Regions from separate parts of the Homo sapiens genome. Here all the other regions are linked to region 2. The links are contacts of gene promoters, found by promoter capture Hi-C in blood cells and fetal thymus (Javierre and others, 2016). All regions are on one chromosome and are shown on one strand. The core of a region is centred on a gene start or on the middle of the fragment in contact, and the rest is flanking DNA. Distances in the headings are between cores, read along the strand shown. Region 1 overlaps FGGY (FGGY carbohydrate kinase domain containing). Region 2 holds the start of MYSM1 (Myb like, SWIRM and MPN domains 1). Region 3 overlaps FGGY (FGGY carbohydrate kinase domain containing). Region 4 has its middle 34 kb from the start of MIR4711.

Evidence for each region. The method cuts DNA at HindIII sites, captures the fragments that hold promoters and counts their contacts. A CHiCAGO score of 5 or more calls a contact.
Region 1: a contact is called between a fragment that was not itself captured here and the fragment with the promoter of MYSM1 in region 2, in 17 of 17 cell types (naive B cells, total CD4 T cells, total B cells and 14 more). The highest score is 26.5, in naive B cells.
Region 3: a fragment that was not itself captured here is called in contact with the fragment with the promoter of MYSM1 in region 2 in 17 of 17 cell types (monocytes, erythroblasts, activated CD4 T cells and 14 more); the score reaches 20.7 in monocytes.
Region 4: a contact is called between a fragment that was not itself captured here and the fragment with the promoter of MYSM1 in region 2, in 17 of 17 cell types (total B cells, naive CD8 T cells, monocytes and 14 more). The highest score is 16.4, in total B cells.

What each region holds. Positions count from the first base shown.
Region 1 is chr1:59,712,905-59,715,604 of GRCh38, forward strand. The region is part of intron 14 of FGGY (FGGY carbohydrate kinase domain containing); the gene reads left to right. Among named protein-coding and RNA genes, the nearest start is that of MIR4711, 19 kb to the right of the region's middle. The HindIII fragment of the contact is 1,512 bases long and covers 562-2,073 here.
Region 2 is chr1:58,698,732-58,701,431 of GRCh38, forward strand. It overlaps MYSM1 (Myb like, SWIRM and MPN domains 1), which reads right to left and starts at 1,331. Exons shown (of 20, transcript NM_001085487.3): 1 at 1,254-1,331. The coding sequence starts at 1,321. RefSeq lists enhancers at 826-885, 1,096-1,505. The HindIII fragment of the contact is 3,791 bases long and covers 76-2,700 here.
Region 3 is chr1:59,749,334-59,752,033 of GRCh38, forward strand. The region is part of intron 14 of FGGY (FGGY carbohydrate kinase domain containing); the gene reads left to right. Among named protein-coding and RNA genes, the nearest start is that of MIR4711, 17 kb to the left of the region's middle. The HindIII fragment of the contact is 1,082 bases long and covers 882-1,963 here.
Region 4 is chr1:59,765,569-59,768,268 of GRCh38, forward strand. No RefSeq gene overlaps it. Among named protein-coding and RNA genes, the nearest start is that of MIR4711, 34 kb to the left of the region's middle. The HindIII fragment of the contact is 1,269 bases long and covers 664-1,932 here.

The sequences.
Region 1 (2,700 bases), core at 68-2,567, 1.0 Mb after region 2:
AATTTCTCCTCAGAAAATGGGATTTTCTTTTCTATTGCATTGTCAGGCTGCAAATTTTGCAAACTTTCATGCTCTGTTTTCCTTTTGAAACTGAATGCCTTTAGTAGCACCCAAGTCGCCTCTTGAATGCTTTGCTGCTTAGGAATTTCTTATGCCAGATACCCTAAATCATCTCTCTCAAGTTCAAGGTTTTACAAATCTCTAGGGCAGGGGCAAAATGCCACCATTCTCTTTGCTAAAACATAACAAGAGTCACCTTTGCTCCCATTCCCACAAGTTCTTCATCTCCGTCTGATACCACCTCAGCCTAGACTTTATTGTTCATATCACTATCAGCATTTTTGTCAAAGCCATTCAACAAGTCTCTAGGAAGTTCGAAACTTTCCCACATCTTCCTGTCTTCTTCTGAGTCTTCCAAACCGTTCTACCCTCTGCCTGTTACCCAGTTCCAAAGCCGCTTCCACATTTTTGGGTATCTTTTCAGCAACACCCCACTCTACTGGCACCAATTTAATGGGTGACACACTCGTGCAGCTGGTCCCCACTGCAGGTCCTTCACAAAGCTTCACTAGTCCATGAGAAATGAAACAATAAGGACAGGGTATTGAGATTTTAACAAAATTAAATGTAGACTATTTAAATGATTCTCCTTTATTCTGATATCATGATAACCACTTTTTTGGTATTAAAATCTCCTTTTGGTTATGAAATAATGGTGAGAGTAAATATGGAGCAGTTGCTTTGTTTAAAGTCCTTATATAATCAAATAAAAAGCTGACAATTATGTTGTAGATCTCCAAAAAGTTTGAATATTTTATTGGTCCAAAGTTTGAGAACTCCTACTCTAAGACTTTCAAGAAGATGGCCCTTCCCACATGTGGGGCTGGAACCTCTTCCCCTTTCACTATCATCAGAAAGGCTTCCGCCCTGGATACAATTAGTATTTGTTGCATACTTCAGTATTTTCTAGGTATATCTTTGCTTTTTGGAAGTCTAAAACATCTGGTAGAATCTTTCAGAAGAAGCAACACAGAATAGAGGCATTAAAATCAAAATTTGAAGTCTGAAACTTCTGTTTCTTACCATCATTAAGAGAGAAGTGCCCAATGACAATCATTTCTCCAAACCATCAGCAGCTCCTTGGAAATGAAGTGGAAGGGTGATAATATATCCAGGACAGACCTAGCTAATGTCTTAATCTTGGCATAATTATTAATAATAACATTCCCTTTCCTTCCAAAAAGTGTCTAGGACTCAAAGGTGAGTTCATTGGGATAATAAACTATGGCCACCTTAAATGAAGGCCCCTTCAGCTCTCCTGAGCTAGAAAGTCCCAAAGAGCCTGCTCTTTCCCTGGGCAGGAAGCCATGGTGACCAGTGGAAGGATTATGTCTGTCTTACCAGAGGCCTGGGTTGGGTGCCAGCATGAAGCCTGTAGGATCTACTTAGATCTGGGACTTCAAAGACCTAGTGGTGGGTGAATCTTTGTGGCTTCCATCATTGCTTTGTCTCTGGGAGCATCAAGTTGAAGGCCAAGCTAGTTTCTTTCCTTTGATGAGGGAAAATATGTCAACACAATGGTCCACTGAACTCTGGGAATAGACAGACATGTGGTGTCTTTGGGGGATTATAGCCTAAATGGTTTTACTCTGGCACATGTGGAATTAAATATAAAACAAACAGCTGATTGCTGTTAAATTCACATGCATAAAAACAACCATTACTATGTCTTCTCAGCTACAGTACCAGAGAGTCCCCCTAGAATCAAGCAGTTATTAGATGGGACTTTGGAGTGAGTGTAGAAAAGAAAAGGAGGAGGAGAAGGAAGAAAATGAGGAAAAGAGGAAGAGGAGAGAGAAATAACAAGTCAAATAGGTGGAGAGTTTTGAAAGTTACAAAGTCTGTGCCATTTAGCATGAGTTATTTTTCCTTTTTATTCCTTGTATTTGACATATGAAAAGAAATCTTTGCTGATACTGGCTTCAGATTCTCAGGTTTAAGTATGCTATCCTTGACCCAGGAAAGAGTTACATGCATCATACTTCCGAGGCCTTCAAAGAACAACTTGGAGCAAGCTTGAGAGTTTGCAGGGCATTTTGGTGACATTTCTGGATGCCCTTTGTTTCCCCCTTTCAAGAAAAGCCCTTTCTTTCGTTGCCTTCTCACATAACAGCTTGGGATTCTTGTCCCTCCCAGAAATGCATTTGAACTTGCTGGGTTTGTTAAGAGTCAGGGCATGAAGCATTTTTCCATGGTAGAAAAGTTCTGGCATTCCAAAGCAGAACTAATGTGGGATTTGGGAAGCTTGCCCTATTTGTGCACTTAATTAGAGCTCACCAAAAGCAGCTGATCCATTGGTACCATAAAAAACCAATGCTGAGACCAAGGAAGGCTAAGACTGTGAGTACCCTTAGAGGGTGGTGAACATGAATTCCACACCTGTTCCCTACTGACTGGAATCAGGATTCAAAGGCAAAAAGTTGTGTGCTTTCCAGCAACATTCATTGGGATCCGCAGCCCAATTTAATCAATTGATAGGTTGCCAGTGTCTAAGTCAAGTCCCGAAACACTTGGTTCCCCTTGGGTCAATGAAATTTGGTCTTGGTTCTAATACAAACTTTAAGTTGGCTAAAAATGGCTGAGAAAACTACTGGTTTTAGAGTCAGTCAAGCCTGTGCTCTAAGTCTGACTCTGCCACTA
Region 2 (2,700 bases), core at 81-2,580:
AGCACTTGGTCAAGATTTAAACACTAAATGAATGTCAACAAGTATTGTTATTAAGGGCTCCCTACTCATCTGCAAAGCTTTGAGGGACAATGACCATATGAGTTTAATCACCCCTCACGTCTTTATAGGGCTTTAGAGTTCATGATACACTTCTAAACACACTATCTTAGTGCCTCAAGCGCTGGGTTAGTACTTCTCCCCTGTTCACAGAGGCCCTAATATTAGGCTGAACTACATGAAGTTGCCGCTTTATAGAACAAAAATGGTCTAAATATTGGCAATTTCATATGGTTCAAGCTAATACAGTTCTAAGGAAATTGTACATAATTATAAACAACATAGCTGGCTGACTTTAGAACTCAGGCTTTCTGATTCCTGGCTAGTCTAGGACTCTTCATGACTAAAAGGAGACTCATTTTTGATTCAGAAAGCAAGGAGTCAAAGGAGGTTCTGTGTCAAATCACACTGGGCTGTTTGTTCTGCTGGAACAGGTATTTTAAAAAATGTGATCCCTTACTGGATTCTCACAGTACTGTCCCCGAGGGTAACAGGATGGTAAAGAATACATTCAGAGGGCACCTACCGTATGCTAAAGCATATCTCATAATCATTTCATTTGATCCTCCCAATTACATATCATGACTCCCAGTTTAAATATGAGCAGTCTGAGGCTCAGACAAGTTAAGTGTCTTGCCCAAGGTCACATTGCTATTAACTGGTAGGGCGAGCAAATGCAGAAGGAAAACCCAGAACTGTCCAACTCTAAAACCTGGCCCATTTAAGTCAACCTGCTTCTCGGGAAGTTTTACAACTATCCCCATGTGGAAGAAGGGATGAAACGACTCGCCCAAGGTCACACGGCTAGCAAGCCATAGAACAAGAGTCCCTGACCTCAGGTCTCGTCCGTAGCCGCTCTTGTTCTAGTTACTGTCGATGAGATCCTGAAAAGGAGGGAACGGAAGAAGGAATCTAAATGTAAATCAAACGCAATGTGGTAGGCGAAATCGGTGCCCTCACAGCATCCGGCAAAAGGTGAAAGCGACCCAGGAGTACCTGAGCTCCAGGTAACCGCCCTGCCCGCTGGGCTTGGGACAAGCCGGCGGGCGAGGTGCCTCCCAGGCCAACAAGAGACCCTGGCCCAGGGGACAGTCTTCTGTTCCCTTTTCCCTTGCCGGACCTGCAGCTTTCCCAGGGCCCGCTCCTTCAATCCACTCCCCTCTCCGCCCCAGAGAGACCCGGTCTCTAAGCCTCACCCTGGCTGTGCCCCCGCCGCCGCTACCACGTCCCCTTCGATATCCACATCCGCCTCTTCAGCCGCCATGATGGGACCTGACCCCGTCCGTCCTCCCGAGAGATCCCGCGAGACGAAGATGGCCCGGGGGCAGGGCCTAACGCGTCACGGGGCGGGATTGAAGCGTCGTCCGGCCCCTCCCGTGCCGGGAGGCGGGGTTTCCAGAGCAAAGGCGCCCCCAGAGGCCTGGGGCTTGGTCCTTTCTAACTTGTTGACATGTAGAGACCTTGGGAAGTGGCCCACGCCTGAGCTTTTTTTTTTTGAGAGGGAGTTTCACTCTTGTTGCCCAGGCTTGGGTGCAATGGCGCGTATCTCAGCTCACTGCAACCTCCACCTCCCGGGTTCAAGCGATTCTCCTGCCTCAGCCTCCCAAGTAGCTGGGATTACAGGCATGCGCCACCACGCCCGGCTAATTTTTGTATTTTTAGTAGATACAGGGTTTCACCATGTTGCCCAGCTGGTCTCGAACTCCCGACCTCCCGACCTCAGGTGATCCGCCCGCCTCGGCCTCCCAAAGCTCTGAGATTACAGGCGTGAGCCACCGCGCCCGGGCCCTCCTGAGCTTCTAAGAGCTTCTGTTCTTGCACACATTCTTTGGGACCTCACTGCTCTCACTGATAAAATGGGGATAACAGCAGTATCTTTCTGGACTGATGAAAAAGTCAAGCTAGACCCGCTTTGTGAACTGAAGGTTGCATACCTGCTGGTTATTTAAGTCTCTCTCTTTGTTTTTTAAAGAAAAGGGTCGTGCAGCACTTATGTGAAGTCGTTCAGCATTTCACCTAAGTGCTGAACAACTTTTATTTTAAAATTCAACAAATATTTAAGAATATAACTTATGATTGTGTAATTTATTTTGTAGACGTCTTTGCAATTTAAAAATCACGCTCATGACCATTAATCCTTACAGTGTCCCAGTGAGGTAGGCAGAGCTAATATCACCAGTTATACTTTACAGGTGAGGTAACTGAGGCCTGGAGAGCTGAAATGACTGTCCAAGGACAGGTAGCTTCAAAGACAGAGCCAGGAGTAGAATCCAGGCTTTGTTGACCCTCTACTGAGTGCTCACCATGTAACAATCATGTTGTTAGAAATTGGAGGATAAACACCACTTCTGTCTAGTTTATAGTTTCTCAAGAAATTAGATACTGACAGCCAGATGCGGTGGCTCACACCTGTAATCCCAGCACTTTGGGAGGCCAGGGAGGGCGGATCACAAGGTCAGGAGTTCGAGACCAGCCTGACCAACATGGTGAAACCCCGTTTCTACTAAAAATACAAAAATTAGCTGGGCGTAGTGGTGGGCAACTGTAGTCCCAGCTACTCAGGAGGCTGAGGCACAAGAATCGCTTGAACCCAGGAGGCAGAGGTTGCAGTGAGCCGAGATCACGCCATTGCATTCCAGCCTG
Region 3 (2,700 bases), core at 173-2,672, 1.1 Mb after region 2:
CCCAGGACTTGTGATTGGCATCTGAAGTGTGGGCAGTCTTGCTGGACTGAGCCCTGAAGCTGTGGGGTCTGACACTAACTAACTGGGGTCAGTGTCAGAATTGAATCAAATTTAATTATAAGTCATGCAATTGGTGGCAGGAGAGTTGGAGAATTGGTGAGTGTGAGGAAAAAACCCATACATTTGGTGTCAGGAGTGTTGTAGGTAAAAACAGCCCAGAGAGGTAAAATCATTCATTGATTCATTTAACAAATCCTTATAGATTAACTATTCTGGCCAGGCACAGTTCTTGGTGTGGTGCATGAATCCAATACACACCCCTGGCCACATGGAGCTTGCATGCTAAAGGGATAATAAATATCTAAAGTTTATGTAGCATTTACTATATGCTGGCATTGTTGTGTTTTACCTCAAATAACTCACGTGCTTCTCATAGCAGTCCTATGAAAGGCATATTTTTATCCCCATTTTCTGATGAGGCAACAGGCATGAAGAAATTAAGTAATTATTCCGTGATTATACAGCTAGTAAATGTAAAAATCCAGTTTCAAATTCTGGCAGTCTGTTATAGTCAGTCTGTATTTTAATCACTGCCCTTTATTTTCTCTGCTTCTGAAAAATCACCTAGACTGGTCCTGACTGCTATAAGGGGAACCAAAGTGGAAGTCAAGAGACCAGTTAGGCAGTAGTGGTCAGAGAATGGGATACTGGAATTTTCAACAACACTGAGTAGATATTATTATTCCCACTTAATAAATGGGAAAACTGAGCTTTGATTCACACATCTGATAAGTAGCAGAGCCTGGATCCAACCCCAAGCCCATTTATCTCTAAAACCCAGTATCTTTCTGCTAATGCCTCCATTTCCTACAGAATTATAAAGCTTCCACTCCTCCCCTCCTTTATGACCAAGAGACCAATTTGAGGTATGTTTTAGAGTCAAAATTAGAGGACTGGGCGTCTAAAAATTTTTTTTTCTCTTGGTAGGCATTTTTATAATTGAAAATAAAATAAAATATAAATATACTGACATGCAGTTCTGTTTTCTCATTTTCTTTTGCAAACTTTAAATTGAGATATAGTACACATAAGGTGAAATACAAAGATATTAATGTACAGCTTGATGAATTTTGATGAAGTATACACCCATATAGTCAACACTCTAAAGATATGTAAATGTGTGCACATAGTGTACTTAAAATTATAAATGAGGTGCCAGTTTTCATATCATGAGTAATGATAAAGACCTCTCCCACTCTCTTTTTCTCTCATCCCTTCCTGCTTCTCAATTGATATTTTTGTCTCCAATTCATGGGGGTTACACAGAATACCAGGTGCAGGTCAAAAGATGACTGTGTCAAAAGGAAAAGAAAGCAAAATAAATAAGAGAACAACTAGCCATTTCTTAATGCGTGTTGAAGGAAAGTCACATTGATATATTTTCTGTTTTTCTATGGAGGGGTCACGTGCCTCAGCCCACACATTAGCATGTGAACTTGTTGTTCCAGTCAAATGAGTCAGAGTTCCTCAGGAAGGCAGATTCCTGTATTTTAGAGCTATGTGTCAGCATCTGTAAAAAAAAAAAAGGTACAGTGTCCTGTATTGATGCATCTCACTGATACACACGTGCTCGTCTCACTCCAGGTAATCACACCTGCTAATAAGCAGCAGAAGTAGGATTTGAACTCCAGCCTAGGGCACTCAAGAATCAGGCTGTTTTCATGACAGGGAGAATGGTACCACTGAGTCCGAATGTAGGGTTTGCAATGGCCTGGAGTCAGAAGTGGGCTTGAATTCTGGTTTTACTACATAATGGCTTTATGACCTTGGGAAAATTACTTATATTCTCTCTATTTTCAGTTCCTTTATTCACAAAGTGGTGATAGATGATCTGTGTCCTAATGTCCTTTTGAGGGTTAAAAAGATCATGTACTTAAAATAATCAGCACAGCACAGAGTACAAAGCTTAAACCAGTAAAATGGCAATGGCAGTGGTAGTCGGCCCCTAAGTCAACAGACACCACAGTGTTTTTTAACCATATACCCCCATCAGTTAAAATAAATTTTGAGTATGCATCCTCAGTACATGAAAACCTATTTATGAAAAAGCATGATGTGCTATACTGTGTTCATAGATTATTTACTCTATAAAACAAGTGAAATATAGCTGAACCAAAGTATTTCCAATGTGTTTACCTGTCATGATGGCTTCATGCTAATATTAGCAACATGTAAAAGTACACTATATGTCTATGGCCAGGTGTGTTTTTAATAATTTTAAAATGATTTTTGATGATTTTTAAATGATTTTGTATGTGCCTATGTATCGAAATCTAAGGCAATCTTCTTGATAATTTTGATTATTTTCCCAATCCTTGTCTTATTTGACTAGGTCTTCATTGTTTTTACCTTACAATATGAGGAGCTAGTACTGAGTAAATACATCACCATTTTCTTGTTTACTTGAATCTGAATGGTGAACTGGTGATAATTATCTCCATCACGTGCAAATCCATTGACTGAATCTTTTTTAGCTGCTTGTCCATTTTGTGAGGGTTAGTTTAAACTAGTTAATACCTATTAATCACTAACCTGGAACATGCAAACGACAACATGTAGCAATTCTGGAAGCTGAGGACATATAAGGGAGTGCCATAGGGCCATCCCTGGAGTTGGAGAGCTCCCACTCTCCTCACAAGA
Region 4 (2,700 bases), core at 48-2,547, 1.1 Mb after region 2:
CTCATGTTGTTGATTGCCAAGCTCCGGGTGCTGGCCATTCTTTCAAGCAAACTCGTATCCAAACCAAACCTGACCTGAGTTTTCACTGCTTTATAGAGAAAGGAAAACACACAGAAATTAGGCAAAAACACATGGCAACACTAGGACACCTTTGGCATCTCAACAGTGAGGAGCAGCTTGATAGAAAGGAGAAGGGCTGAAAGACCTTGGGCAACATAGCTAACCTGTCTAAGCCTCAGTCTTTCCCTCTGTGGTGGGATCATTCTGCTACCTACCTCCTAGGGTTGGTGGTAAGGATTCAGTGAAAGAACTGTGGATAAAGCCCTTAGCACAATGCCTTTCAGACAATAGGCACTCTACAAATATTGTTTCTCCATGGTTCTCTCTGCCTCCTAGCTAGGAGGTTAATCCCTAAGAAAATCATTCTGGTTCCTACTATAAAGCCACCGTGTTAGGAAAAAATATAAATGTCTATATATAATTCTATTAGAAACCACGTGTGGCTCAGTAATAAAAATTTTAATCACTCCAATACACACCTCCTTGCACTGAGAAAGGTGGTTTTATTTAATACATGCATGTAAAGTATATTTAGCTTTGATGAATAAGAATTGCAGTGTGGCCAGAGTGGTTTGTGAGATTTTTGTTTTGTTGCCTACTGAAAGCTTTTCTTTCAAGTTAAAGCCAGACTTGCTTAGCAAATCATTTTGCCAAGGAACGCATTACAGGTTTTAAATTTTGACCAAAAATACTTCCCATATGCGAAGAACATAAATGTGGCTTTCAAAAGAGCCAAAGAGAACAAAAGCTGGGGGAGGTGAGGAAGAAAAGACAAGAATGACAGAATGGAGTGGCATGTTGCAGAGCTACAGTAAACTACAGGACCCGATGCCACAGTGAGCTGGAGTCCTAGTGAGGCATCCAGAAGGGACGCCCTCTCTTGTGAAGATCCAGACTGGGCATTTGATCTTTATATTCAGAGCATAATCTGTGTTGTTGCCAGTTGCACTGGGGAGTATAAGTTCCAAGAGGAGCAGTAAAAATATCGTAAGGCAACCCTGGAAACGCCCAGCTTTAAGAATGCACCAAATCAGCATGTGAGTTAGCAAGCTAGAATGCTTAGGTTTTAATATCAACATGATCTGCTATTTCTCCCAGGCCTGAGGATAATCACGTTCTTTAGATTTACTTACCTGCTTTTTTCTTCCTCCCCCCGGCCACCGGCCTGTGAGCTCTTGGAGGGCTCAGAGTATCTTATAGCCTGTTCTCTGTACCCAAACAGTTCTTGGCACGTAATGGGTATTCCATAAGTGAATAAATACACAAACACAAGATGTTTTTCTGAAAAAAAAAAAAAAAAAAAAAAAACACTGGTAGAACTAAAAAAACTCACTTTCAGGTCAATCTTCTGTACGTGTTAATATGCCTTAATTTAAGCAACTGTCAAATGCTTTAAAATGTGTTTTGGTCACTAAGGATTTTTAAAAATCATGCCTTATACCTAACAACTTGCTTTTTTAGTTTTTTATTGCACATAATACACACATGCATAACCACACAACTTCATTTTGGGTTGTAGCTCAAGCTGAGAACCTTTTGCAAATTTTCCATGTTGTTACAGACTATTTCCTGTATGATATCCTATGGGAAGCCAGAGGTGTTGTAATCCAGAAACACCCATTGTTCACCAGGACTGCAGGACACATGCTTTCAGAATTCAAGGGCATAGTTACAAATAATTACCATCAAGAATTTAAAATGAAGGACATCGTTGCTAAACAAGAAACTAATGACTGAGTGGAGCTGTGTAATGTAATTATACTTAAGATGGGACTTCTGACGAATTACAGAAGAATCTTTGTGCTGTCTCATGTCTCCATAAATACACTTAACTGCTATTGACAGTAATAGAAGGGAGTCTTGAATATGAAAAGCTTTTTTTATCCTTTTATGATTTCTAGAGGGAAAACTTAAAAGAACAATTATGTTTTTAAAAAAGATGTTTCTCCCAGTACTTCTGAATATTTGACAATCCTATAAAATTTGTAAAACTAAAGTAACTTTAAAAGCAAAGACTTCTGCTAATAAATCCCGACTTCTCAGTTTAGCATTAACTTGCCCATTAATTTTGTGGTCGTGTTTCATTATGCACAGAAAATCATTTAAAACTACATATTAGCATAAGTGTTTTCTAAAGACCTAATTTTTATTTAAGTCCTGCCTTAAGCCATGATTAGAAGTGCTTCCTTATTAAAATCTAGAGTGAGCCTGCCTCCCTACTGCATAATTGTAAACACATTTGAAATAGAAAATGATTTATTTATTAGTGTCTGTTATTTAGGCAAAATCAATAGGGATGCCTTCCATTTGAATACTTCTTTACAGTTTCCCTATTGATTGCACATACATTATCTCATCTGCCCCTTATAATAAATTGGTGGGGTAGGCCTGACAAAGTGGGATCCCAGTTTACAAATACCCAAACTACATCTCCTAGAGTTTAAGTGACTGGTCCAAAAGATTGCGTAGCTGGAACACAGATGCAGAACCACTCCGCTGCTTCTTCCTAAATAAATTAAATTAGCTTATTTGTGCAACAGCAGATGATTCATTAGTTTCCTAATTACTCTCTCTTCCCTGCTTCCCTTCATTAACATGATATATAAATATCTAGGAGGCCCCTTTTGAAACTCATTGGTT